Regions from separate parts of the Homo sapiens genome. Here regions 1, 2, 3 and 4 are each linked to region 5. The links are contacts of gene promoters, found by promoter capture Hi-C in human tissues and cell types (Jung and others, 2019). All regions are on one chromosome and are shown on one strand. The core of a region is centred on a gene start or on the middle of the fragment in contact, and the rest is flanking DNA. Distances in the headings are between cores, read along the strand shown. Region 1 holds the start of MAN1C1 (mannosidase alpha class 1C member 1). Region 2 holds the start of CEP85 (centrosomal protein 85). Region 3 holds the start of CNKSR1 (connector enhancer of kinase suppressor of Ras 1). Region 4 holds the start of SH3BGRL3 (SH3 domain binding glutamate rich protein like 3). Region 5 overlaps STMN1 (stathmin 1).

Evidence for each region. The method cuts DNA at HindIII sites, captures the fragments that hold promoters and counts their contacts. A contact is called where the count stands out against the background at its distance.
Region 1: a contact is called between the fragment with the promoter of MAN1C1 here and a fragment that was not itself captured in region 5, in 1 of the 25 tissues and cell types used here (dorsolateral prefrontal cortex).
Region 2: a contact is called between the fragment with the promoter of CEP85 here and a fragment that was not itself captured in region 5, in 2 of the 25 tissues and cell types used here (dorsolateral prefrontal cortex and hippocampus).
Region 3: a contact is called between the fragment with the promoter of CNKSR1 here and a fragment that was not itself captured in region 5, in 1 of the 25 tissues and cell types used here (dorsolateral prefrontal cortex).
Region 4: a contact is called between the fragment with the promoter of SH3BGRL3 here and a fragment that was not itself captured in region 5, in 4 of the 25 tissues and cell types used here (bladder, dorsolateral prefrontal cortex, lymphoblastoid cells and 1 more).

Annotation. Positions count from the first base shown.
Region 1 is chr1:25,613,626-25,619,110 of GRCh38, reverse strand. MAN1C1 (mannosidase alpha class 1C member 1) reads right to left here and starts at 2,320. Exons shown (of 12, transcript NM_020379.4): 1 at 774-2,320. The coding sequence starts at 1,313. RefSeq lists silencers at 2,095-2,384, 2,405-2,694 and an enhancer at 2,885-3,054. The HindIII fragment of the contact is 13,132 bases long and covers 1-5,485 here.
Region 2 is chr1:26,232,624-26,238,522 of GRCh38, reverse strand. It overlaps CEP85 (centrosomal protein 85), which reads right to left and starts at 4,323. Exons shown (of 14, transcript NM_001319944.2): 1 at 4,213-4,323. RefSeq lists enhancers at 3,455-3,504, 3,595-3,654, 3,975-4,124. The HindIII fragment of the contact is 8,629 bases long and covers 2,782-5,899 here.
Region 3 is chr1:26,174,089-26,179,370 of GRCh38, reverse strand. CNKSR1 (connector enhancer of kinase suppressor of Ras 1) reads right to left here and starts at 1,880. Exons shown (of 21, transcript NM_006314.3): 1 at 1,772-1,880. The coding sequence starts at 1,823. The HindIII fragment of the contact is 12,765 bases long and covers 1-5,282 here.
Region 4 is chr1:26,276,998-26,282,124 of GRCh38, reverse strand. SH3BGRL3 (SH3 domain binding glutamate rich protein like 3) reads right to left here and starts at 2,039. Exons shown (of 3, transcript NM_031286.4): 1 at 1,922-2,039; 2 at 1,193-1,360; 3 at 603-1,067. The coding sequence starts at 1,969. The coding sequence ends at 1,002. CEP85 (centrosomal protein 85) reads right to left here. Exons shown (of 14, transcript NM_001319944.2): 14 at 3,317-4,989. The coding sequence ends at 4,832. RefSeq lists enhancers at 744-1,630, 1,631-2,518, 5,069-5,127 and silencers at 1,758-2,207, 1,684-2,255. The HindIII fragment of the contact is 5,211 bases long and covers 606-5,127 here.
Region 5 is chr1:25,898,137-25,903,278 of GRCh38, reverse strand. STMN1 (stathmin 1) reads left to right here. Exons shown (of 5, transcript NM_005563.4): 4 at 1,597-1,788; 5 at 2,192-3,163. The coding sequence ends at 2,263. Among named protein-coding and RNA genes, the nearest start is that of STMN1, 5.7 kb to the left of the region's middle. The HindIII fragment of the contact is 6,597 bases long and covers 1-5,142 here.

The DNA.
Region 1 (5,485 bases), core at 1,071-3,570, 280 kb after region 5:
GCTTTTGATTTCTTAAACTAAGACTCAGACTTAAAGTGATCCTTCTAAATCCCTCCTGGTACAATCCCTACAGGGAACCAGCTCAAGATCTGCTTCATTATGCCAATAACCTCGGAGCTTCTGTAATATGACCACTGCTTTATCATCTCTTCCTGCATCATATGCAATTATGTACAATTGTGTACAATTGTTCTGAAGCTCAATAAGCTCAATAGAAACAGAATGCACAACATCCTCTGGTTTGTAGGTTGCTTACTAGATTACAAAATATTTGCAGGACACCAAATACCCCCTTAAATCCTGGGTTTTTAGGTAAGCAGGTCCTATAGGGGTTTTGGACTTAAGGTCACACAGTGAAAAAGAATGGGACCAGTGGCTCTGTGTCCACAAATGCAAAAAGAGGGTGCACTAAGGAACCTGAACTCCACTCTCATTAGCAACTCCACAAAGGGAAGGAGTGGAGCTCACTGGGCCTGGGGGTTGGATACGACATACCAGAGTCTGGGAGTGAGGGGGCAGTTGGTCTAGGGGTTCAGCTGCCATCTGTCACGGTGGGGACGATTAACTGACCCGAGTGGTGGGAAACTGTGTAGGGAGGAAAGAAGGTGGGACATTTGGGAGGAAAGGGGAAGGTGCAAAGTGCAGTCTGCAGGGCCAGAAGTAGACCTGGGACCAGGAGTGACTGAGGCAAGGGAAAGGGGTGGGAGCGCCAGAGGGTCTTCTCTCCTTAGAGGGGGCAGTTGGTGGGAGGAGTTTGGGGGCTGAGTCCATACCTCCTTGATTTTCTCCCGCTGGGCTCGCACTTGGCTCTGGGGCTCCTGACTCTCATCGGCCCTCGTTCCCAGGACCGGGTGGCGGAGACGGCTCCGGAATGCGTTGAAGTCAAAGCGGAAAGGGACGCCCTCGTCCCCGGGCCTGGAGGCCGGGATGCTATTGCCCCGGGCCGCCGTGGCCTCCTCGCGGGGTCCAGTGGGGCGGGTGCGCCGCAGCCCCCCTTTCCTGCGGCGGGGACTGGCCCAGCTGCTGGGGTCATCCTCGCCCGGGGCCGGCGCGGCGGGGGCCGGGTTGGGAGGCGGCTCCTGCTCGCGGGCCGGGGCATGGCCGGCGATTTCAGCCACCACTTCCAGACCAGGCTGCTGGGTCCGGGGGGCCAGGAAGAGGCGCTTGAGGCGAGAGGAGTGGGGCAGCAGGAAGAGGGCCCCGAAGCACAGGGTGACCAGGCCCGAGAGGAAGAGGAGGAAGAGGAACTTCTGCGGCAGCCGCAGCCCCCACGGGGAGGCCGGGACGAAGCCGGGCACTTTCCTCATGAGCATCGTGGCCCGGCCGGTGGCTCCAGAAGCCCTCGGAGTCCAGGCACGTGTCTGCGGGGGCGCGGTGAGGGGAGGGCGTCCGGAGCGCCGCCCGGGATGGGGGTCCCTGGGCAGGGTTGCCAACCCTGAGAGTTTCGCCGCTTCGGGGGACTGTCCCCGAAGTTCAGGGAGTTTGGAGCGAGTCCTCCCGCGAGGAGGCGGGGGCGCAGCGGCCTCGGCGGGGCCCGGGCGAGCGGAGCGGCACGGCTTGGGGCCCGGGCCCGCAGCGACCGGCCGCGCGCCGCAGCCTCCCCTCCGGCCGAGCCCTCCCCGCCGCGCCGGGGCCCGCGCCTTCCCGCGCTGCGGCCGCCGGGACCGTCACATGCCGTCCGCGGCGTCCCGGCTGTCCGCGCCGAGGGGCGCCCGCAGGCCCGCACCAAGCCGCCCTCCGCCCCCTAGGCTCCCGCCCGCGCTGGTAGGCGCCCAAAGTTTCAGCTTCAGAAGCAGTTTCCGGAGGGGACCGAGGCGATGGGGGGCTGGCGTGTCAGCGCCGCCCCGAGCGCGCGCACACCCGGCCCGGTCGCGACAGCGCCCGGGCTCGACTATCGGGACACGTCCACAACTTTCTCCGCCGCGGAGAGGGCGCCGGGAGCTGGGAGCCGGAGTGGCCAGGGAGCAGGAGCAGGCACTTCCGAGCCTGCGGGGGCAGGGGGCTTCCCCCGGGCCCCAGACAGCGCAGGGATGCCTGGGTCCGGAGCCGCGGCTGGGCGGCTGCAGATGCGCCCGGGAGCGCGGGCTCCCGCCCCTCGAACTCGGCAGGGCGCGGGGCTCCCACTGGGATCACCTGTTCCCGGCCCCGCCGGCTCCGCGGAGCGCGCAGCCCTGGCCGCGCCTCCCCCGCTGCAGCTGTCTTCCTCGCAGCGGCCGCTCCAGACCGGCCGCTGCCGCCGAGCCTGCGCCCCACACGCGCGCACAGCCACCCGGCCGCCTCCACCGCCGTCCCCGCCGCCGCCGCCGCTCGGGCTTTCACTGCGACAGCGCCCGCCGCCCCGCCTCCTGCCGCCCGCCGGCCACGCCCGCCGGCCACGCCCACGCGCGCGCCCCGCGCCCCCTCCCGCCGCCGCCGCGCCGCAGCCGGCTGAGGGCCGCGCGTCCGGGGGCGGGGCAGAGGCCGAGCGCGGGCGGGAGCGCAGCCCGCTCCAAGCCCCGCCCTCCCCGAAGGGCAGGCGTCGCGCGCACCCCCCATCCAGCGGGCGCCAATGGTCCAGCGGCGCGGGGCAGGCGAGGGCGGGGGCGGAGAGCGCAACGAGGGCATTGGCTGCATCCGAGGGATCCCCGTTGGGCCACAGTCGTCCATTGGTTACTGCCCAGCCTTCGCTGGACCCCAAGCGACAGAGACCACCCCCCAGCCCGCCCGCGAGGCTCGGGTTGGTGGCCCCCGGAAGCGGGCCGGAGACGGTGTTGCTCTGGAGGGGTGTGCCCGTCGCTGGGTGACCTCTCTCGCCCCCGAGTGCCAGCCCGGGGTTGTCAGGGAGCTGGCAGCCCGCGCCCTGGCGGCTGCCCCGGGCTTCTCAGCGCTAACGCCGGGCTGCAGGGGTGCTGCTGGTGGCTGGAGCCAAGCCAGAGAGCTGTGACCGCGGCCGGGTCGGCGGAGGTGATGTTTCCACTGGCCCCCTCGCAGACCACTGGCGTGCCTTCCTTTTCCCACAACCCTAAACGGGGCCAGGGCTCCTGGGTGGAGCACGGAGGGAGGCTGACCGCAGCCTTGAGAAGCAGCGAAAGGAAGAGAGCCCCGGGCGTGTCTACAGAAGACCACACACATAATGTGACGGACGTCTACCTTGATGCCTACGTGTGTTTATATGCACATGTGTGCGTCTGGGCATAGATCTATATGCACACAGAGACTGGCATGTGGGTGTGTACATGCACTCAAACATACACTTAATTTGGGTATGGACACCCAAGTGATTATACCACAGTATGCATAGACATATATGTAAATTAGTACAAACATGGACATGTGCACCCGCATACCCACAGACACTCAGGCAACAGATAACCTCCAAAAACAGCCAGGCATCAACTCCCAGACACGCGTGTCCTCAACCCCAAGGCCCTCACATCTTCCTCCTTGGACTTAGTCTCTGCATCTTCCCTTCCTGTTAAACCTAACCCAGGGTGAAGCAACATTGTGCTGTGTGGGTCTTTCATGCAAAACACTTTATAGAGACAAATAACAGCAGAGGGAGAGACAAATTAAGAGGTTTGTAATAGGCAAGAGGGAAAATATCTACTTTCAGCTGCAATTTAAAATGAAATGCAGTGTTGACGAGACAGAAAATACTGCAGGGAAGCCTTTCCCGACAGAAGAAGCGGGCCAGGCAGGCTCTCGCCTCGTAAATCTTGCTTCTTCCCTGAGGCCTGCTGGGGATGGGCGGCTGGGACTCAGTCATCCTTCTACCTCTGGCCAGACCACTGACAGCAGACCCACCCTCGATGTTTAAATATCCCTGGCATGCAACTTTCTCTCAACTGAAAATGAAAGTGGGTAACAGGTGCAAACATTTTGGTCACTGGAGATGACTAATCCTTCCCAATCCCACAAATATATGCAGCTTAAATATAAAATTCTAATTCAGATATTTCAATCTCTTGTGAGTTTCGTTGGCAGGTTGATGTGGAGCCAGCTGTGCAAATCAGAGATAAGCATGTGACCCATTTGGGTGCAGGAGCCCAGAGACCTGGCCTGGCCTCACCCATGTCTCCAACACCCAAGCATCGCCTCACTGGGTCCCACTGCAGGAAAGGGCAACCTTGTCTTTGGAGAACCAGGCAGGGACCCAGCATTCATTAGAGTCATCATCTGTGTTGTTCCTCATTGAGAGTGTAGGGGAATCACTGTTCAGTCCCCTGTGAAGGTAGGATCCAGAAAGGGAGAAGAGCAGAGCTGAATCTCAGAAGGAAATGTCTGTTTGAACTAGATGCTCACTGTGATGTGACACTCTGACCAAACTCTGGTGTGCTCTGTGAGCCAGGGTGGAAAGTGGGGCTGCAGCAGGACTGACGTGCCTTTCACACTCAGGCTATGAAAACCAGAGGCCCCAGCAGGTAACTCCATTGCAAAGTGATGTGATGTTGGTGATCACACCAAGTTGTTGATACCATCACTTGCTAGGGAGATACCAGTCTCTCTAAAAAGCTCTCTGAAACCCTGGGTGTCCCCTTGCCCCACACCTCTAGCCCCCAGAGACCTCATACATCCCGTGGCTCTTCTCCCACTGACTTTTAAAGACTATTGGTGTGTTGTCACAAAGCAGATGCTCAGTTCTTCACCACGGCTTCCTCACTTCTCTAACTCTCTAACTTCTCTAACTGCCCCGGGTCTTAACCACAATGCCTTCCACATGGGCACTGTGTTTGCTCAGTAAATGAATGAAGAAATGAGTGAGTAGATGCCCATTTCACAGATGTAGAAACTGAAGCTCGGGGAATGGAAGAACAGTGAACTAACATTTTCTATGTGCCAAATACATATTGTCTTATTTACTTTTCAGAATAATCTTTGTGGTAGATAATTATTAATAGCCCCATTTTACAGATAAGAATACCAAGGCTTAGAGAGACTTGGGATGAGTTATAAGTATCTATATTAATCAGAGTTCTCCAGAACAGAACCAATAGGCTATATATAGATATATAAAAAGAGATTTATTATGAGGGATTGACTTCTGTGATTATGGAAGGCTGAGAAGTTCCACAATCTGCCATCTGCAATCTGGAGGTCTAAAAAGCTGGTGGTGTAGTTCCAGTCCAAGCCAGGAGGCCTGAGAACCACAAGAGCCGATAGTGTAAATCCCAGTCTGAGTCTGAAGACCCGAGAACCAGGAGAGCTGATGTCCAAGGGCAGGAGAAGATGGATGTTCCAGCTCAAGCACAGAGCATGGATTTGCCATTCCTCTTCCTTTTAGTTCTGTTTCAGCCATCAGTGGATTGGATGCTGCCCACCCATACTGGTAAGGGCAGATCTTCTTTACTCAATTTACTGATTCAATTACTAATCTCTTCCAGAAATTCCCTTACAGACACACCCAGAAGTAATGTTTTACCAGCTATGTAAGCATCCCGTAGCCCAGTCAAATTGACACACAAAATTAACCTTCACAGTATCTTTCTCAGTTTAATTCAGAAATTCA
Region 2 (5,899 bases), core at 3,074-5,573, 330 kb before region 5:
AAGCCCCAAAAGAGTTTGGGACAATTCGGCCGGGCTCAGTGGCTCACGCCTGTAATCCCAGCACTTTGGGAGGCCGAGGCAGGCGGATCACCTGAGGTCAGGAGTTCGAGACCAGCCAACATGGTGAAACCCCGTCTCTACTAAAAATACAAAAATTAGCCAGGCATGGTGGCAGGCGCCTGTAATCCCAGCTACTTGGGAGGCTGAGGCAGGAGAATCGCTTGGACCATGGAGGCGGAGGCTGCAGTGAGCCAAGATCGCGCCATTGCACTCCAGCCTGGGCGACAGAGCAAGACTCCGTCTCAAAAAAAAAAAAAAAAGAGTTTGGGACAATTCACAGAACATAATTCTATCACTCTGGAGAAAAAAGACTATATGGTACTATTTCTCTAATGTACTTTAGTGACCTCTATAGTATTCTCTTGTTACTAAGAGAATACTATAGAGGTCACTAAAGTACATAACAACCCAAACCCTTATTAATTCACTGCATCTACAATAGAAAGGGTATCATCCTCCACAATTCCAGTTCTTCACATACTGGGTGAGGGAAGCTTTGTTCAGTAATAAAAGCTTTAGTTTATGGCAAGTATGATTCAGTGAGTTAAATGATGACATAGAATGATTAGATTACCTCCTTACTAGTGATTTCCTTTCTTGTCAATATCAAAATCCTTTTCTTCACTCCTTTCTTTAAAGGATAACAAAATGGTAGGCGCACTGGATTCTAAGGTGTTTCTAAATTCAGACAAGTTGAAAATACGGTGACAGAAGGAGAACTCCGAGTTACCCTATGACTCAGCAATTCCACACTGAAGTATACACCCAAGAGAAATGAAAACACAGGTTTACACAAAAGCTTCAATAAGAATGTTCGTAGCAGCATTATTTACAATAGCCAAAAAGTGGAAACAACACAAACGTCCATGAGCTAATGAATGGATACATAAAATGTGGTATATCCAAAAAACAGAGTATTATTCAGCAATAAAAGGAAGTACTGATACATGTGACAACATGGATGAACACTGAAGACATGCAAAGTCAAAGAAGCCAAACAAAAGGCTTGATCCTATTTATATGAAATGTCAGAATAGGCAAATCCATAGAGACACAGATTAGTGATTGCAAAGGACTGAGAGGAGGGAGGGTAGGAGAATAGGAAGGGACTGCTAATGGATACCGGGTTTCTTTTCAGGGTGATCAAAATGTTCTGAGATTAGATAGTGGTGACTGACTGCACAACCTTGCCAATATATTAAAAACCTCTGAATTGCACACACATAAAATTAAATTTTATGTTATGTGATATAAGCCAAAAAAAAAATTCTAAGACATCCCCAACCACCTGAATGGATCCCTCCCCTTGGCCAATGGCATTCCAAAGTTAAGCTGAAAAACCTGTTAAGGCCATGATGGTGGTAGTGGTGGTGGAGTCCTACACCCCTCATTATACCCTCCTCCCTTCTGGAATTTAGGAAAAGCATTAACATTAACACAGATGTCTGTAAGAAACATTTATAATCTATTCTCTCTAAAGCCTACTATTTGGAGGCTTCATCTGTACAATAAAATGTTGATCCCCAGGATACCTTAACCCAGACATTCCTTTCTATTGATAACAACTTTCAACCAACTGCCAATCAGAAAATTTTGAAATCTACCTATGACCTGGAAGCCCCCACCCACTAAGAGTTGTCTTACCCTTCCAGATCAATGTAAATCTTACATGTATTTGACTGATGTCTCATGTCTACCTAAAATGTTTAAAACCAGGGCACACGTTATCAGGATCACCTGAGGGCTGTGTCAGGGGCCACTGGTCACCCATATTTGGCTCAGAATAAATCCCTTCAAATATTTCAGAGTCTGACCCTCATTGACAACAAATATCTCAAAAAAGAAAAACAGAAAGAAAGAAACCCCGTAAGGAGTAAAACAATACAAAATAAATCATTCTTGACTTAAGAATTAGATGAGCTACTGGTGGAAATTTTTGGGACAACTGAAGGAGACAGAAATTTCCTGGGATAAAAATGAGAGAAGTGAATGTACAAGAAGTAACACACCAGTTATAAAGCTTAGAAAGGGAGTGAATGGAGGCAGACAGAGGGGAAAAAAAAAAAAAGCACCCAACAGGATTGGTTTCCATCTTCAAAGCCCTTTAAACTACAGAAACAGTCACTCATTCAACAAATTTAACATGCATTCTGCACTTACTACCTATCAAACACTGTGCTCAACACTTTTTAAGTATCATGTCTCATGTTTCATGTTCACATCAACCCTATGAGGCAGTTACTATTATCCTCATTTTATGGATGAGAAAATAAAGGTTTACAGTAGTGAAGGTCATATGGCTAGGAAGAGGCTTCAAAGCCAGGACTGTACTCTAACGCTACAGTAGTCTAGTCAGCATTCTACATGTGACAAAACACAAAAAAAGAGATCAAGCATGGCACCACAAGTTGGAGTTTCTGCCTCAGACAGCTAGAGCTGCAAGCCTCAATTATATGAGCAGTAAAAGCTCATAAAATTTCTTCACTTTGTCCTTGGTCATCACCTAGGCTTTATTTCTCAAGTTGCTACCCAAGAATTAGATTTTGACTGCCGTAAGTATTTTTCCCCTATAAGAATTACAATCTAAGTGTGGCCGGGCGTGGTGGCTCACGCCTGTAATCCCAGCATTTTGGGAGGCCGAGGCGGGCGGATCACCTGAGGTCGGGAGTTTGAGACCAGCCTGACCAACATGGAGAAACGCCGTCTCTACTAAAAATACAAAATTATCCGTGCATGGTGGCGCATGCCTGTAATCCCAGCTACTCGGGAGGCTGAGGCAGGAGAATCGCTTGAACCTGGGAGGCGGAGGTTGCGGTGAGCCGACATCGCGCCACGGCACTCCAGCCTGGGCAACAAGAGCAAAACTCCGTCTCACAAAAAAAAAAAAAAAAAAAAGAATTACAATCTAAGTGTGGAACATCATGCTTGGCAGCTGTTAAGAGAACCACATCAAGACAAGAGAGGATTTGAAGGGATACACAGACAGCTGACACAGACACACGAAGGATCTCACACCATTACACTATTTTCACCGCCTTGATCATTCATTAAACCTTGTGAAAGAGAAGCCAAATCCTTGACAAGAAGTTGCCTTTACAAAGAAAAGTCGTGAGACATACAAAACCACCAGATCACTATAAAGCAGACAAGGTTTGAGGGCAAATAAATGAGGCCTGGCTAGCTTCATCGTCCTTGTATCACCACCGCCCCCTACTTATCCCAGTGTTCAATTCATCAACCGAAATTTACTGCGTGCCTACTATGCGCCTGGCTCTGAGCCACGTGTTGGGAATGTACTGGTGTAAAGGATCGCTCTCATTAACTGAGGTGAAGTAAGCGTTGAATATACTGTTGAACAAATAAACCTGAACACACTAACTTTCAGTTCAACCAAAGCACCAGCTCCTTCTCGCTGAAGGAAGCTTCCTCACCTTCCGCCCTACTGACATTTTGGGGGATTTTTCTTTGTTGTTGGGGGCGTCCTACACACAGTAGGCTGTGTAACAGCATCCCTGGCTTCTTCGCACTAGATGCCAGTAGCAAGCCCTGGAGCTGTGACTATCAAAAGTGTTTCCAGACATCGACCAATGTCCCCAGGGAAGCAAAATCGCCCCGGCCGAGAAGTACCGGGGTAAGGCCCCGCCAAGTGCTTTCCGTCCCACAACCTTAATTCTCTACACAGCCTTCCAATCTCGGCTCAAACTTCTCCTCCTCGGGGAGGGCTCCCTGACCTCTCCGACTAGATCCGCGCCTTCTGTTTTGCGCTCTTTGTAAGATTTCTCCACTCTACCCTCACTGCGCGCCGAGGGATTACCCCGCTTAACGTCGACTCCCAGGGCTGTGCGCTCCGCAAGGGCAAGGAATGCGCCGCTCGCTGTGTCCCTGGCTATCGGCACAGGGCCTGGCACGCAGGTAAAGTGACTGCCGTGGGGTGAACCACGGACGGCAAAGCAAGGCAACGGGGGAAGCGAGGGGAATGGGACGCGAGAGGGCGTATGCCGGGGCACTGGCTTCGGAGCCGAGGCGCATGCGCTTCGCTCTCCCCGGCCCCTCACGGTGGCAGGTCGCGAGCGTCTGAGGCTTCGCCGGAGCTATGGGAGGAGAGGCAAGGTCGGCCACTAGGACTGAGGCTCCCGAAGGAGGAAAACTTACACGGGCCTGAAAGCGGGCGGCGAAATCCCTCACTCGGGAAGACTGACTGCAGCCACCACGTCTGCGGTGAGCGGTGGTTCCCTCCCTCAGCTCCTCTAACGGCCGTTGCACGCCCGCCAGGCCGCGCGCCACAGAACGCGCGTCGTTTGGCCCCACCCCGTTCTGCCGCCTCTGGCCAATCGGGAGTCGAGCCGCGCCGGCTTCCCGCCCCTTTCTATCCTCTTCTGACCAATCGGCAGCCGAGCCGCGTCGGTATCCCGCCCCCACACGCTACCCTCTGCTCAGAGAGCCGGACGGATCTTTCTGCGCATGACCACGTCGCCACTTGGCTCCTTCTCTGCCCCTTGCCGCGTTTTACCTGTAGGTGGAGCTCTGCTCACCTAGACCTGGAGGGGCCCTGCTGGGCCTGTGCAGGTTGGGAAGCTGGCGGCCCGCGGGCGGGGCTGGGGACACGAGAATCCCACTCAGCTTGCCTCACCCTCCTTCCATTCCAACGCCGGTCTATCAGTTCTCACACCTGAAGCAGGGGTTCAGGTTGTGACCAGGAGTTAGGGTGTGGCCTGGGTCACTGACTAGTCAGGGTCAAGGCTTGGTCTGGGTTGGACGCAGTGGTCAGCCTGTGACCAAGGTTCAGGTTGAAGGGTAAAGGATCAGTCCTGCCTCCCTCCCCAAACTTGGTCCACAGGAAAAGGAACTGTTAAGTCCATTTGCATTAATATGCGCTTGAAGAGTCAGACAGGAAAATTGTTTGAAAGGAGAACAGAACCATCAGCCAAAGGAATGAATCTCAGATAGTGAAATTCTGGGTATCTAGAAACCTGACTTGGCAGGGAGAGATACTAAAAAATTGTATAGGAGGCCGGGCGCGGTGGCTCATGCCTGTAATCCCAGCACTTTGGGAGACAGAGGAGGGCGGATCACGAGGTCAGGAGATCGAGACCATCCTGGCCAATATGGTGAAACCCCGTCTCTACTAAAAATACAAAAATTAGCTGGGTGTGGTGGCGCATACCTGTAATCCCAGCTACTCGGGAGGCTGAGGCAGCAGAATCGCCTGAACCAGGGAGCCGGAGGTTGCAGTGAGCCGAGATCGTGCCCCTGCACTCCAAAAAAAAGTTGTATGGAAAAAAAAAGTTGTATAATTTCTTAGCTTTAAGAGCCAGACAAAGTGAGTTCATTACTGAATAAAAGTCACTCTAGAGGAAAGACCCTAGGGATGTGCCCCAAGGTTGTATCCTTTGTCCTCTCTTTTAGTATTTTAAGATAAGAATATAGAAGACATAAAATAGCAGATTTAATGGATAATGAAAATGAACCTGGGTATGATATGAAATTAGGACCAGAAGCCTCTGTTAACGTAAAGGCTAAAAAAAAAAATGTTAAGACAGGGTGTCTAAATGAATAAATTTATGGACTGAAGGGTAGAAAGCTAGAAAGTGTTAGTCCTGGCCGGGCACGGTGGCTCACGCCTGTAATCCCAGCACTTTGGGAGGCCCAGGCAGGTGGATCACTTGAGGTCGGGAGTTTGAGACCAGCCTGTGGCCAACATGATAAAACCCTACTAAAAATACAAAATTAGCCAGGTGTGGTGGTGGGCACCTGTAATCCCAGCTACTGGGGAAGCTGGGGCAAGAGAATCACTTGAACTCAGGAGGAGAGGTTGCAGTGAGCCAAGATCACTGCACTC
Region 3 (5,282 bases), core at 631-3,130, 280 kb before region 5:
CCTTTTTCATCTAACTTCCTCCAGGAAGCCTTCCATAACTTCCCAGGCTGAGTGGGATGGAGGGCTCTCCTCTTGTTCCCACTGCCCCTGAGCCTCCACAAACCCCTGCACTTGACCATCGGTCTTTCCCATTTTATCACAGGCTCTTCAAAGATCAGGCCTTAGATAACCATTTGTCTCTAACCCCCGGCCTGTGCCTGGACAAGGTAGGCACTGAAAAATAAGAAAAGTGTCTATTGAGGGCTTACTATGTGCTATGCAAATCTATAAGAGCTTTACACATATTAACACATTTGATTCTCACTGCATTTCTAGGAGGTAAAGACTATCATTATCCTGCTTACAGATGGGAAAACTGACACAGAGGTTAAGTAGCTTGCTCACTCTTCGAAGGAATTCTTCCCCTTCTAAGCCAGGCTCCTTCACTGGGGGAGGTGTGTGTGTGTGTTCCCTGTGTCACATTGAGAGCACTGGACTGGGAGTTCATGAACCTATCACTCCCTGGCTATGGGCCCCTGAGCCACCTCCTTCCTGCACGGTGACTGTATTGGGCTGGTGCCCTCCCAATAGACCCAGGCATTGAGCTACAAATGAACTATGTCATGATTGTCTCACTTTGTCGACTTCATAAGGTCAGAGTTGCCTTTCCCATTTGATGGACAGAAAAACTAAGACCTATGGTCACAGAGCTGGCAAGCGGTGGGGGTGGGCCTGGAATCCAGCCTGGGAGTCTGAACCCAGCCCTGAATTCCTGCCCTTACCCGGGCTGGTCCTCCTGAGCCTGTCTCTAGTGCGCTCCAGCTCCCCACTCTGGGAGGGGTGTCCTGACTGCCTGCTCCTGGTCGCACTGTGTGTCAGGAGGCCCTTCCTTCTCTGAGTCTGCCTGTGGGGTGTGTTGCTTCCCATCTGTGTGGGCTCGCTGAGCCTGGACAGCACCTTGCCCCTTGGATAGGAGCCCCAGGGTGGGGCTGTGTCAACCTCTTCAGTCTGGCCTAGGGCTTCTGCTTCTGTCACTAGGAGCTCAGGGTGTGGAGCGGGGAAAATGACACCAGAGACTGAGCAAATCATTTCCTGGCTCTGTGTGTCAGTTTCTGACTCTAAGAAACGGATTTAACAACAGCCCACTGGCCCTGGGGCCAGGGAAGATGAAGGAGATACAGTGGGTGTGGGCCTGTCAGGCCTCCCTCCTGTTTTCATGACACCGCCTCCCCATTATCACCCTAGAGGCCTCTTGGGCTACTGCCATGATGAGGGGCCCCCTTCTGGGTCCTTGGGCCCCCCAGGGTCATCTCATCTGTCTCTCTGCCCAGCACGGTTCCTGGAACATGTTAGGTGCTCTGTAAATATTTGTTGACTGACTGACCGACTGATAGAGCCCGCAGTTTATTATTTTTTTTTTTCTTTTGAGCTGAATCTCGCTCTGTCGTCCAGACTGGAGTGCAGCGGTGCAATCTCGGCTCACTGTAACCTCTGCCTCCTGGGTTCAAGCGATTCTCCTGCCTCAGCCTCCCAAGTAGCTGGGATTACAGGCACCTGCCACCACCCCCAGATAATTTTTGTATTTTTAGTAGAGACGGGGTTTCACCATGCTGGTCTTGAACTCCCGACCTCAGGTGACCCACCCACCTTGGCTTCCCAAAGTGCTGGGATTACAGGTGTGAACCAGCGCACCCAGTCCGCAGATTTTTTTTCCTTTTCCTCTCCTCCCGCTTCCCGGTGGGACACCACACCTAGTCCCCTTCAAGCCCAACTCTACCCCAGCCCCACCCACCTCTCAGCCAAGTTGCCACCTTTCCGGGGGTCCAGGTCTCTACCGGTTCCATGGCCCAGCTCTGCCAGCTCGAATCAGCTCCTGTTTTGCCCTGCTGTCGCCGGAATTTCCGCTCCCAGAGCCCAGGCCTAAGGAGGGGCCGGGCTGGGTCCTGGGCGGAGCCTACTGCATACCTGGGCTCACACAGACGGCAAGATGAGGCACTGCGACAGCCATTGGCCCACGCCCGTCCGCCTCCTGCCCGGCCCTTCAGACATCCTAGGGCTCTGGCATCTCGCGCCTGCTAGGGGGCAGTGCCACTGGCCTCATATCGCGGGGTGGGACCCTGACCCTTGGGCTCCTCAAGAAAAAGCCACAAGAGGAGCGCTGAAATCAGTAGCAAAGCACAGAGGCTAGGGGGCCAGGTCCCTGGGTGCCTAGGCCAGCTCTTGTTAGCTGTGTGACCTGGGGCTGACCCTAACTTCTGCGCCTCAGTTTCTGGGTCTGTAAAAGAGATATAATAGACCGTACTTCAAAGGGCAGCTGTGCACAGTATCTGAATGGCTTGAAAACATTTAGAACTGGGGTGTTTAGCCTCCCTTGGATTTTGCAGTATGGACTCTGGCATCTGGTGAGGCCTGTGAATGCTTTCTCAGAATAGCTGCTTATAAAGGCATAAAACAGGCCGGGCGCGGTGGCTCACGCCTGTAATCCCAGCACTTTGGGAGGCCGAGGTGGGCGGATCACTTGAGATCAGGAGTTCAAGACCAGCCTGGCCAATATGGTGAAACACCATCTCTACTAAAAATACAAAAAATTAGCTGGGCGTAGTGGGTGCTTGTAATCCCAGCTACTCAGGAGGCTGAGGCAGGAGAATCCCTTGAACCCAGGAGGGGGAGGTTCCAGTGAGCCAAGATCGTGCCACTGCACTCCAGCCTGGGCAACAGAGCAAAACTCTGTATTATAAATAAATAAATAAATGCACAAAACAAAATGCTTAGGATTACAATGAGAACAATTATCAAAACTATATTTAAAAACAAATTTGGCCGGGCATGGTGGTTCACGCCTGTAATTCCAGCACTTTGGAAGGCCAAGGCGGGTGGATCATGAGGTTAAGAGATGGAAACCAGCCTGCCCAACATGGTGAAACCCCGTCTCTACTAAAAATACAAAAATTAGCTGGGTGTGGTGGTGCACGCCTGTAGTCACAGCTACTCAGGAGGCTGAGGCAGGAGAATCGCTTGAACCTGGGAGGCGGAGGTTGCAGTGAGCTGAGATCACGCCTCTGCACTCCAGCCTGGCAACAAAGCAAGACTCCGTCTCAAAAAAAAAACCCACAAAAAACAAAAAAAAAATTTGGAGCTGGGGAGTGCTGGCACACGACTGTAGTCCCAGCTACTCGAGAGGTTGAGAGGTTGAGCGGGGGAGTATCACTCAAGCCCAGGAGTCAAAGCCACCCTGGGCAACATAGCAGGAGCCCATCTCAAAAAAATAAAACCAGAAATTTATATTATGTGTTTACTAACATTAATAAGACTGGCCGAAAGTTAAATTTTTCTTTTTTAATGACCTCAGTGTGTTGTCGACCAGCTTGAATAAGGACATTAAACTGTGGGGTGGTCTTTGACGCCCCTCCTCTTACATATTGATCAGCAAACAACTAAAAACAGGGAATGCTGGGCCGGGCATGGTGGCTCACGCCTATAATCGAGACGGGCGGATTATGAGGTCAGGAGATCGAGACCATCCTGGCTAACATGGTGAAACCCCGTCTCTACTAAAAATACAAAAAATTAGCCAGGCATGGTGGCGGGCGCCTGTAGTCCCAGCTACTCAGGAGGCTGAGGCAGGAGAATGGCGTGAACCCAGGAGGCAGAGCTTGCAGTGAGCCGAGTTCGCGCCACTGCACTCTAGCCTGGGCGACAGAGCAAGACTTCGTCTCAAAAAAAAAAAAAAAAAGACAGGGAATGCAGAAGAGTGGAGAAGCCCTACTCAGAACAGGCAGATTCGCCCTTTGGTCACTGAACCACTGCTAAGCCTGGAGGTAACCAATTAATGGCGGCTACATCACAGGAGCATCTGAAACAGAAGTTGCTCACGAACAATTTAGTGGTGGTTTAACAACCACTGTGATTTTGAAATCACTTGAGCATAAATATTTTGAGATACTTGCAATAACTACAATTTGATATGAAAATATGTGATTTCTATTGGTGACTAAGCCAAAGATACTGCTACTGCTTCAATCCATATAGAAGGAAATCATAAATTTTGGTTAGAGTTTAGCAAAAATAAAAATATAATTTTTTCCCATCCAAGTTTATGGATCCCCTGAATTCTGAACCTCAGAGCAAGAGCTTTAATCTTAGAAAAATATCTGACACATAGTAAATGTTCATTTTCATCATCATCATCAGGTCAGGGGACTCCCAGGACTTTAGAATCAGATAAAATCAGCCGGGCGTGGTGGCTCAGGCCTGTAATCCCAGCACTTCAGGAGACCTATGCGGGCGGATCACCTGAGGTCAGGAGTTCGAGACCAGCCTGACCAACATGGAGCAACCCCATCTCTACTAAAAATACAAAATTAGCCGGGTGTGGTGGCACATGCCTGTAATCCCAGGTACTCGGGAGGCTGAGGCAGGAGAATTGCTTGAACTCATGAGGTAGAGGTAGCGGTGAGCTGAGATCGCGTCATTGCACTCCAGCCTGGGCAACAAAAGTGAAACTCCACCTCAAAAAAAAAAAGGCCGGGCGCGGTGGCTCATGCCTGTAATCCCAGCACTTTGGGAGGCCAAGGCGGGTGGATCATCTGAGGTCAGGAGTTCGAGATCAGCCTGGCCAACATAGAGAAGCCCTGTCTGTACTAAAAATCCAAAAAATTAGCCGGTCGTGGTGGCGGGCGCCTATAATCCCAGCAACTCGGAAGGCTGAGACAGGAGAATTGCTTGAACCCGGAAGCAGAGGTTGCAGTGAGCCGAGATTGCGCCACTGCACTCCAACCTGGGCAACAAGAGCAAAACTCTGTCTCAAAAAAAAAAAAAATCAGATAAAATCAGTTCCATACTCAACTGCTATGTGACTCAGCCCAACTTCTACAGCTCTCTGAATCTGTTTCTTTGTCTCCAGAAGGGGATTCCTAGGCCTTAGCACTGTGATGACATTAAGTACTTTGAAATCTGTATCATGGGGTAGATATGAGTTATTATTGCTTTAATTCTGTGGGGAGGAGCTACCTGTTGTCACCTACTTCAGAATTTCTGCAGCACCCCCAGTCATCAAAGCCTGTCACGACCTTACCTGTAACCCAGAGACCCAAAGTCTGAATTTCGCCCATGGTTGGCCCATGTAGTGTACGTGTGTTGTCATCATTTAATAACGTCACATCCAAATTGAGATTTCCAGCTTCTCTGAACTTGGCCAGCTCTGGTGATGCCATCCCACCTTCACACTTGGTATTAACAGCCTCTTTCATTTTGTGAGCCAGTTGGCTTCAAATTTGCAAAATGCCCGTCTCCAGCTTTGTCTT
Region 4 (5,127 bases), core at 790-3,289, 380 kb before region 5:
CCTCTTTCTCCCAAGAAGGGCTAAGTGGATCCTGTGAAGGGAGGGATGCAGTGGGGGGAAGGAGCTGGCCCCAGCTGGGTTTACATTCTCAGCTGGGACAGCAGAGCCTCACTGTGTATGTGTGCAGCCAGCAGATACCTGTGCACAGGCACAGACCCACCAACTCGTGGGGACACTTCAACACCGCACAAAGCCATTTTGCCACTAGACCCATGCCCCCAAATTAGCAGAACTGCAGCTGGGTACCCACCTCCCATGATACACTCATTCTTAGCCATTGTGCTCCAACACAGGCGCATGGGATGGCCACACTCACTGACAGGCATGGAGATGTGCACTACACACCAAGGCACAAGCATGATATGGACACATGCATGTGAACTGGAGGGTGGCCCACCCAGACATCTCCAGAAACCACTGGTCCATACAGGTATTTGTGTGTCAGACATATCCAAACACATGCACTAACAAACACAGAGGTGACAGTCACAAGAGAACAGCTCAGCCACCCTTCCCACAGAGCAGTCTCAGCACAGTCACAACTACCAACCTTGCCCAGGGCAGGGACCCAGGAGGCCCAGGCCACAACCAACCAGACACAGTGCCAATGGAACAGGACATCATTTAATTGCCTCTAGGGTCCTCCTGGGAGAGGGACTGCGGGGCCTTTGGCAGAGCTCTGGCTGATGGAACCAACAGAGGTGCCCATCAGCCAGTGCCAGGCAGGATGGCGGCCCCAATGCTTGGCTGGGGGCAGCCAGCATTTGGGGCTGTTGCTTAAGACAATTTCTGAGACTAATGGGTAAGGAATGTTGCCTTTAGATGGAGGAGAGGGGACTACATTTAGAGAGGAGGGAGGAGAAGTGGCCTGCATTGGGGGAGGGACTCTAAGGTTAGGTTAGGAATGACAGGGAGTTGGTCAAAAGGTCCTTCATGGCCAGGTGAAGGCTGGGGGGAGTGTGGTGATGGAGTCCAGCAGGGGAACTCTGGACAGGCTTGACTCAAGCCAGCTTCAGGAACTCCTGCAGCGTGTTTTGTTCCACAGCCTCCACGAAGAGCTCATAGTCCTGGAGAAGGGGAGGCGAGGGGTGGTCACCTGAATGCAGGGGGCCCAAGTGCTTTGTGGCAGATATGACCCTGGCTAGAGTCCTCTTCCAACACTCCCCCCACCCCCCCGTCCCCCAGCCCATACCCCACAGTACTGGTCCCCGTTGACAATCTGGGGTGGGGTGGCCTTGGGGTTGCCTGCCAAGGCTCGCATCTCATCCCTCAGGGCGTTGTCCTGGGAGATGTCCACTAGCTGGTATTGGATGCGCTTCCCATCCAGGATTCGGGTCACCTCGCTCTGCTGGGACTTGATCTGGGGACAGAGGGTGGGTAGGGGTTAGTGGATAGGCTGGAGGATTTATGGGGGAAATGCTGGGCAGGGTGAGAGAGGCTGTGACCAGGAGCTTTTGTCCCCCCATTCCCCTCCACACTAGGGGAGGGTTCTGGCCTCTAGGAGTTGGGAGGATGAGTCAGGCTTGAGGTGGTGCAGGATGAAGAGAGGGATTATCAGCCACGGGGGAGGGGGTCAGAGTGAAGGGAAGTGGGATCAGGCTCAGGGTGGGGAGGGGAGGGGAGGGCAGGCTGCGGTCGTGGTCAGGGTCAGCCCGGTAGTGGGAGTGCAGAGAATGGGTGTGGGGTTGATGGGGGATGGGCACGGGAAGTTCATGCCGCGGCTGCAAAGGACCCAGGATGCCCGATGAAGACATTCAGGATGGGGCCTCGGGACCGGGTCCGGGAGACCGTGCCCAGCACCTCGCCGACGCACTCCCCCCACCCCGCCCCCGTCCTGGGGGTGGGTCCCGGGCGCTAGGGTCCAAAGCACCGGGATACAGCCCTGCGCTTTCCCCCAGCGCCAGTCCGGGCGCGCACTTACTTCGCGGGAGCCGGTGACCGACGTGCTGTAGACGCGCAGGCCGCTCATGCTGGGGGTAGACAGACGGGCCGGCGGGCAGAGGGCGGCGGTAGCGGCAGCTGCACTGCCGGGAGACGACGCCGCCGCCGTGCTCGGGAGCGGTTTCCTTCCTGCTCCGCCCGCCAAGTCATCGCGCTCGGGACCAATGGGCGGCGCGGGCAGGCGGGGTGGGACCTGCGCGACACCGCCCCGCACGCCAGAGGCCCCTTCCCTTCCCCCTCGGTTACCAGGCGCGCAACGGACCCGTCCCACGCAGGGCGCCCCTTCTGCGGCTGCCCTGATCGTCCTTTTCGGCCCTTCCCTGATCTGGAGCTCAGTGTGAGACTGGGGAGGGGCCTGGGTGGCAGGACAGGCCCGGGAGAGGGTCTGGCAGAAGCCTCCCTCTCCAGCCGCACACAGGTTTGGTGCATCCAACTCCCCAGCCACGAGAGCCGCTCTCTCCAGGAGGAGGTGCTCTAATAGCACAGGGAAGCTTGGGGCTTTGGAAGGTTTGAGCTGCTTTCAGACCCAAAGTTCTCTAAGAACCTTGCTCCAAGGGATCCCTCGCTCCACCACCCAACACGCACCACTAACCCTAGGGGATAGGAAGCATAGGACAGCAGGAAGAGCCCATGCTTAGAGATTTTCCCCCAAGTTCCTCTCCACTCAGGTGGGAAGGTTTAGACAAGGAAGGGTGATAGCAGGACGCAGAGGCCACACCCTCAAGGAACCAGATGGAGACCAAGGCTGACAGCTGGAAAGCGTGGCGGTAGAGGATGATGTCAGGACTCGAGAGCCTAGGCTCAAGCTGACCCTTAAGATCCACCCCAGGTCTTGGGGTGGTCCAAGCTCAACCCCAGCTCCATGCTGCAGATGGCATTCCCAAACTGCTACTACTCCCAGCAAGAATTCAGCGGTTGAGGGGGCAGACTCCAGCAACGAGCCCAACTTTGGAGACCTAGCTGTCTGGCACTCAACATCATGCTTCTCAGATGTCCCCCTGGTCCAGGGCTCAGGCAGGTTAACAGCCCAGAAAGACAACCCTTGCTCTGGTAAAGCCACTTCCTCACAGCAACCCAGAGGCTGCCAACTTCCTGAGAGGACTGCTGAAACTTTCCAGTGACAAACTTCTGTTATGACTCAGGGAAGGTTTGCCCAAGAGAAAGTGAGTGGGAAGAGATCTGGTTCTATAGAACGACAGAGGAGCAGAGGTGGCAGAGATAGATAGGGACATGAGGCTGGCTGGACCTGCCAAAGGTTCCTCCACGCTGCTGCCTGGGGGACCTGGCTGAACACCCAGGTGTTTGGCTCTAACAAGCCAAAGTGAGGGGTAGAATAGCGTGGTGGTGGTGATGGAAGGGTATGGAAAACTGAGGAGTCTGTTAAGATACTTTATTTTATAATCAAAATACGCAATACAAACAAATGGACATAACAAAGATTCATATAAATAACTGGTTATAAACTTTATGAGGAAAAATACCCGTCAGCATGGTGGCTGGGCTCCCAATGCACAGGGTGGAGACCAACCAGGCGGCTCTGCCTTTAAGCAGCAGGAGCCCAGAGGCTGAAGGGCTGGCTGGGTGGGGCTGCTCTGAATGGAAGGGATAAGTCACTCCATAAATAAAACACAAACTTGTAAAAACACTTAAGAAAGAGCCTCATTCAGGCCCAGGCATGAGGTCCAAGATGCTGCCAACAGCCCAAAGCTTAGCAAAAATCTTGTAGTGGCTGACTGGCCCACACGTGGCCCCTGCCTGGCCTGGCTCCAGATCTAGAGGAGGCACGGCTGGCCCAACAACCAGATACTAACAAGTGTGAGATGCTCCCTAAACCAGGAGGCAAGAAAAACCAGAGGGCAAAGGTCCCTCACTAAAGCCCCAGAGAAACAACCCAGGAAACACTAAAAGCTGTACTTTAAAGCTGACTTGTACTGGGTACTCTGAACTTTCAAGGAGGCCAGAGCAGGAAAGGGAAAGGAATAACCCCCACCACCCCCAACACAAGAGAGGCACAAATTAGAGGGCTGGGCACAGGCTGTAGCCCTGGGTGAGGGGGTAAGCAGCTTGACAGTTGCTCTGTGGTCTCTGGGATATAATTCTGCCCAAGGCTAGAACCACAGAGAAGAGTTTGCACTCTTAAGTCCAGGAAGGGGACTACCTGGAAGGCCTGAGAACAAAGGAGAAAGTTTAGCACACTAAACACATGGCCAGGACCCTAGGGACACAAGGCAGCTGGAGAGTGGGATCTCTTGTTAAATGGCATGGTAGGCAGATTAGAGTCCTGGCTATAATCCCTAGGGCCCCAATCCTAGTAGTTACGTGCTAACCAACACATTACCCTGAGGCTTCTGGGAGAACAAGAGCCCTGAGGAAGAAGCAGTAAGACCAGGCATGAGAAAACCCAGAAAGCCAGCTCAGTTCCCAAGAAGGCTGGCACATGGGGCCTGAGAATTCTTAAATGGCCATTGTCACTGGTACTTGCTCAGCCTTTCCAGGCCCCTCTGATGAGCTCTCTAATCAGCAGGACCAAGGTGTGAAGTGGGAATGAACATGGATCCATCCCATTGGATGGAGAAGAAAGGTGGACAGCCTGTTCGTCTCTCATGTCAGCCTAGGGCTGGGAACAGTTTGTGAGGACTTATCTGTTGTACCTGCCAAAAGTTAATTAGTAACTCACCGTCTAGAGTGAATTAACAGGACAAACGTAATCCAACATGCCAGTGTGGGTAGGACACAGTTCCCTAATCAGCCCTTGGCCCCCAGATGCAGGCTCTCCCCTCCCCTCTGAGACCTCTCTGGGAATAGCAGACAAGAGAATGTCAGGGCAGAAACCTGCTGGACTAGGCTCTCAGCAGCCCAGCTCCTCCCTGGGGGAATCCCCCAGAATTCCTCACTGTGTGACACAGTTTTCTCCCATGTCCTGGGCATATCTGTCTGACATGGTGGTCCTTAAGTCCTCAATGTCACGACGCAGCTGTTGAACCTCTTCTAGTTTCCTCTTGATCACATCTGGCTTCTGCAAATCTAGCTGAGTCTCTGGGTGCTGTGCTGCTGGGGAGAAGAGCATTTCAAGAGAATGTTAGTTATGAGACATTTTCATGTGGAGGGTGCAGTATGGATAGGCAGTATCTTGAACCCACAGTCTTGGGACATGCACTTTAAAAAAAGCATCTGGGGACAGTGGGT
Region 5 (5,142 bases), core at 1,353-3,852:
TGTTGCCAGATGATTCTTTGGCACTTTGGTTTTGTTTTTTGAGAGCTGTACAATAACATTTTAAATTGCTAGTGTGATTGTGTTGCTCAGCTGGTATCATGGTAGCTTTTCTCTTATCTAAACAATTCTATTATAAAGTAACTATCTTTAAAAGCTAATCAGAAGAATCAATAAATATTAATATGCTAGTTGTAGAAAATTTGGGAAATACAGAAATTTATAAATGGAAATTAAAAGTATTCATTATCCCGCTTCCGAGAAGCAACCAGTGTTAACATTTTGGTGTGTTTCTTTCCATTCAATGTTACTCATTAACAACTGTACATAACTTTTCATTTAACTCCCTTTCTCAACAACCCTGATAGGATTGATTTTAAAGCTGGGGCAAGTGAGGCACAAAAGGTAAGGTAATAACCTTCCCCAGACCAGCATAGTGATTTGTAGTATACACACACACCCGCCCGAAGAGCCTCAGTGCTTACACTAAGGAGTCGTCTTCTATGCAATAGTGTGAGTTCATGGAGTAGGAGGAAGCAATACAACCAAAGGTTGGACAGTGGAAAGCTTTTTAGACATCAACCCTGGCCCTGTAGTCATTAGCCTGTGCTTTACATAGTAACTGGCTAAATATAATGAAACTCCCATCATGACTAGGATTTGGCAGAAGAGAATCAATAGAACCAGTGTCAGATGCTCTGTGGTTATCCTGCAAGTCAGTGGTTCCAATGTGTTTTGAGAACAAGCTGTTCTGTTGAAGGGGTCATACCAAGGTATGGTCTGGTAATTAATGCAGTTTCCTGAGACAAAAGCTAATAAGCCTTTTCCTTGAAACAAATTTTTCTGTCTTAAATAGTAATCTACAGACTTAGTCTTGAATTTCCTATCATTGTTTTATCAGTTATGGTTAAAATTTTTACAATGAGCTAGTTTTCTTTGGGTAGCTTTTGAAGTTAAATAGTGAAATTCTTTACAATAAAAGTGCCACTCGCAAGTACATATTCCTCAAGTCATCCAGATACCATTAAGCAGTAAATCTTACAAGGATTTCCTTAAGGACTAATTGGGTAAGATTTCTGAACAGATAAGCACTTTTCCAAAGTTAAATACAAATACTAGAAAAAGAATATCATTTTCACAGTATTTTATGATAGGGATAATTCAGGTCCTAATTTTGGTGTTATTTAAAGGGACCTTATTTTCTGCCCCTTTTCAATCCCCTTAGTAAATTATTTTTATTGTAATTTTAACTTATGCTGAATACATTTTATTTTTTGAGGCAGAGTCTCTGTCACCCAGGGTGGAGTGCAGTGGCACGATCTCAGTTCACTGCAACCTCCACCTCCCGGGTTCAAGCAATTCTTCTGCCTCAGCCTCCCAAGTAACTTAGACTACAGGCACCCGCCACCACGCCCGGCTAATTTTTGTATTTTTAGTATAGGTAGGATTTCACCATGTTGGCCAGGCTGGTCTTGAACTCCTGACCTCAAATGATCCACCCACCTTGGCCTCCCAAAGTGCTGGGATTACAGGCGTGAGCCACCACACCCAGCCTGAATACATTTTAGAGTGCCTAGCCTATTAAACTTTTTTTTCCAGTCCCATGAAGCTGAGGTCTTGAAGCAGCTGGCTGAGAAACGAGAGCACGAGAAAGAAGTGCTTCAGAAGGCAATAGAAGAGAACAACAACTTCAGTAAAATGGCAGAAGAGAAACTGACCCACAAAATGGAAGCTAATAAAGAGAACCGAGAGGCACAAATGGCTGCCAAACTGGAACGTTTGCGAGAGAAGGTTGGTTTCTTACTTTGTAAAAGGGTTGAGCTTGGAGTTTGATGCACCAATGAGTTGGCTTGAACTAAGTGCTTTGATAAAAGGTGTTTGGTGTCTTTTTGTCATCCATTTTGGGGCTTAACATATTAAATGAAAGGTATATTTTAAGATGGAATATTCAGTAATTCCCAGCATAATTGCACAGTCCTTGGAAGTCCAGTAGGCAGCTTGTTAGGTTCTACAAGGGACCCAGGAGATTTGATGATGATGTCTCAGAACTTAAATTGTGTGGTTCCCACAGGCTGTAATATATGCACTGAGGTTGTGTTGGGCCTCTTTGAGGTGGGGGCTGGGGGTCGTGACTTGACAGGCTTTTTTTTTTTTTTTTTTTTTTGACTGATGACACCTTACCCTTCCTTTACAGGATAAGCACATTGAAGAAGTGCGGAAGAACAAAGAATCCAAAGACCCTGCTGACGAGACTGAAGCTGACTAATTTGTTCTGAGAACTGACTTTCTCCCCATCCCCTTCCTAAATATCCAAAGACTGTACTGGCCAGTGTCATTTTATTTTTTCCCTCCTGACAAATATTTTAGAAGCTAATGTAGGACTGTATAGGTAGATCCAGATCCAGACTGTAAGATGTTGTTTTAGGGGCTAAAGGGGAGAAACTGAAAGTGTTTTACTCTTTTTCTAAAGTGTTGGTCTTTCTAATGTAGCTATTTTTCTTGTTGCATCTTTTCTACTTCAGTACACTTGGTGTACTGGGTTAATGGCTAGTACTGTATTGGCTCTGTGAAAACATATTTGTGAAAAGAGTATGTAGTGGCTTCTTTTGAACTGTTAGATGCTGAATATCTGTTCACTTTTCAATCCCAATTCTGTCCCAATCTTACCAGATGCTACTGGACTTGAATGGTTAATAAAACTGCACAGTGCTGTTGGTGGCAGTGACTTCTTTTGAGTTAGGTTAATAAATCAAGCCATAGAGCCCCTCCTGGTTGATACTTGTTCCAGATGGGGCCTTTGGGGCTGGTAGAAATACCCAACGCACAAATGACCGCACGTTCTCTGCCCCGTTTCTTGCCCCAGTGTGGTTTGCATTGTCTCCTTCCACAATGACTGCTTTGTTTGGATGCCTCAGCCCAGGTCAGCTGTTACTTTCTTTCAGATGTTTATTTGCAAACAACCATTTTTTGTTCTGTGTCCCTTTTAAAAGGCAGATTAAAAGCACAAGCGTGTTTCTAGAGAACAGTTGAGAGAGAATCTCAAGATTCTACTTGGTGGTTTGCTTGCTCTACGTTACAGGTGGGGCATGTCCTCATCCTTTCCTGCCATAAAAGCTATGACACGAGAATCAGAATATTAATAAAACTTTATGTACTGCTGTAGCAACTCCTGTGAAATGACTAAAGGGAACCTTAATTATTTCTAAAGTAGCATTTGACTCGGGTGGTTAAGGTTGGCAGATACGTCATCTTGTATCCAGAGGCTGTAATAGTCCCCATTGTCAGTGCTTTGCCTCTCAATTCAGGGAACGCCTTTGGCAGCTTTCCTGTGCTATTTGAGAAATAGCCTAATTATACATATTTTGTGCCTCTCAGACATCTGTATAAAAGCTCTTGGAAGCCAAGCACTTATAGCAAAAGATGATTGCTAATACTGCGGTGGGGTCCATGTGTTGCTAACGCATGTGCCTCTGCTGCTTGGGCTGTATCTTGAGATTGGGGTTTTACCAAACTTATTCATGAGAACAATAACAGCCTACCTCAACTTACCTCCTAAGATTGTTAGGATTAAATGGGTTTGTGGCAAGAGAGCACACTTAGAACATAGATATTTAGCATTCCGTATAAATCACGATTACTGTTTTCAACCAGAGGCTAATGAGTGATCTAAGTTTATACTCTTGAGTTGGAAATTATGCAGTTTTTATATTCCTTAAATTGACTTTTAAATTTACTTAAATGATCAATCAGAGGAATTCTGAACAAAGCTTGGTTTAAGGAGTTACGCCCATGTAGGGCAAATAGGAGCAAGTGCAAGTATAGTTGAATACAACAATAGGTTCTGAGCAATATCTAAACCAAGAGGACAGGATGAGGCTTGTGTGCAGTGGTGCAGCACAGTTCATCTTGGCTCCTGTCTCTGGCACATAGCAGGTGCTCTGGGATCTTTAAAATACCAGTTCTGAATAGATGGGAATATAAAGAGGGCCTGAGGGTAGAAACTTGGCATAATGATACGAGGTGTCCTACAAGTGGCAGTGAGCTTTTGTTCATCTAAGACATTTAGGGAGGGAAACTGGCCTCAGGAGAAAGCAAGGGAAGGATCAACAGGCCTGAAAGGATGCCTCATCAGTTACCACCCATCCCATGGTGGCCCTGACTTCCTATCAGAGGGCGATCCTGAGCCCCTGCCTTGTGACAGGCTTAAGTCACAGGAAACTGAAGGGGATGCATCTTACCACAGAAATAGAAGCTCTGGCTTTTCTATTTCACCTTGACCTTTGGAGAAGCACTTAGTCCTGGGCCCCCATTTTCTCCTGGATAAAATGAGATGGTTGGGGGAGATCAGTTAAGTAACTTTCACTCCCCCATTCTTTGCATCTGGCTTGGAGTGAAGAGGAGGAGCGGTGGCACCTACGAGCTTCTGGGGAAGTGTCTCTGGGTATGCATTCCCGGGCCCGGCATTCTCTGCCATCACGGGAGTCTGCGTCTGTCCCAGTGGGGCCAGCCTCTCCCAGCAGTACTTCCAATAGATTGGCCTAATAAGGCCAGAGTGGTTTGACAAGCAGTTGGGGCTGTCACCAAGGAGCAGACTCCATTCCTTTTGTCTTGAATGGAAAATGAGGCTTGTCCCTTCCTGAGGATTTTGTACTTGGGCCTTATGGTTGACTGGGCTCAGTGGAGAGAGGTTTGAAGGACGTGAAGGAGGCCCTTAAATTAACATTTGACAAGCACCTAGATTGTGCTCCACACTGGCCTTTGCGCTAGGGATGGAGAAAAGATGGGGTGGGACCAGCATATCACGTGCCCATGTGAGGGGAAGGAGAGCTGTAGAATGCTTACTTACCTGAGGGTGAGGCTCTCGACCACATACTTGTACTCACCAGGGTGCTTTAGTGCTTTGGTGAAAGGAGTGACCACAGAGGGCTTTGTGGTCTGGGAAGCTTTGAGAGGAGAAAGGACATGAGCTTGTCCTTTTGGAAGTCAGATGAACCTTCCAAGCCAAACCCCAATAAAGCACTTAATTGTTAAACACTTAGTAAGCCTGTGATTGCCACGTGCACAGAGAACCTGCCATAGTTAATGGCCTTTGGCAGGCCCTCCAGGCAGGCCCCCTCCCCATTTTTTTATTCTAAGCAGTGGAGG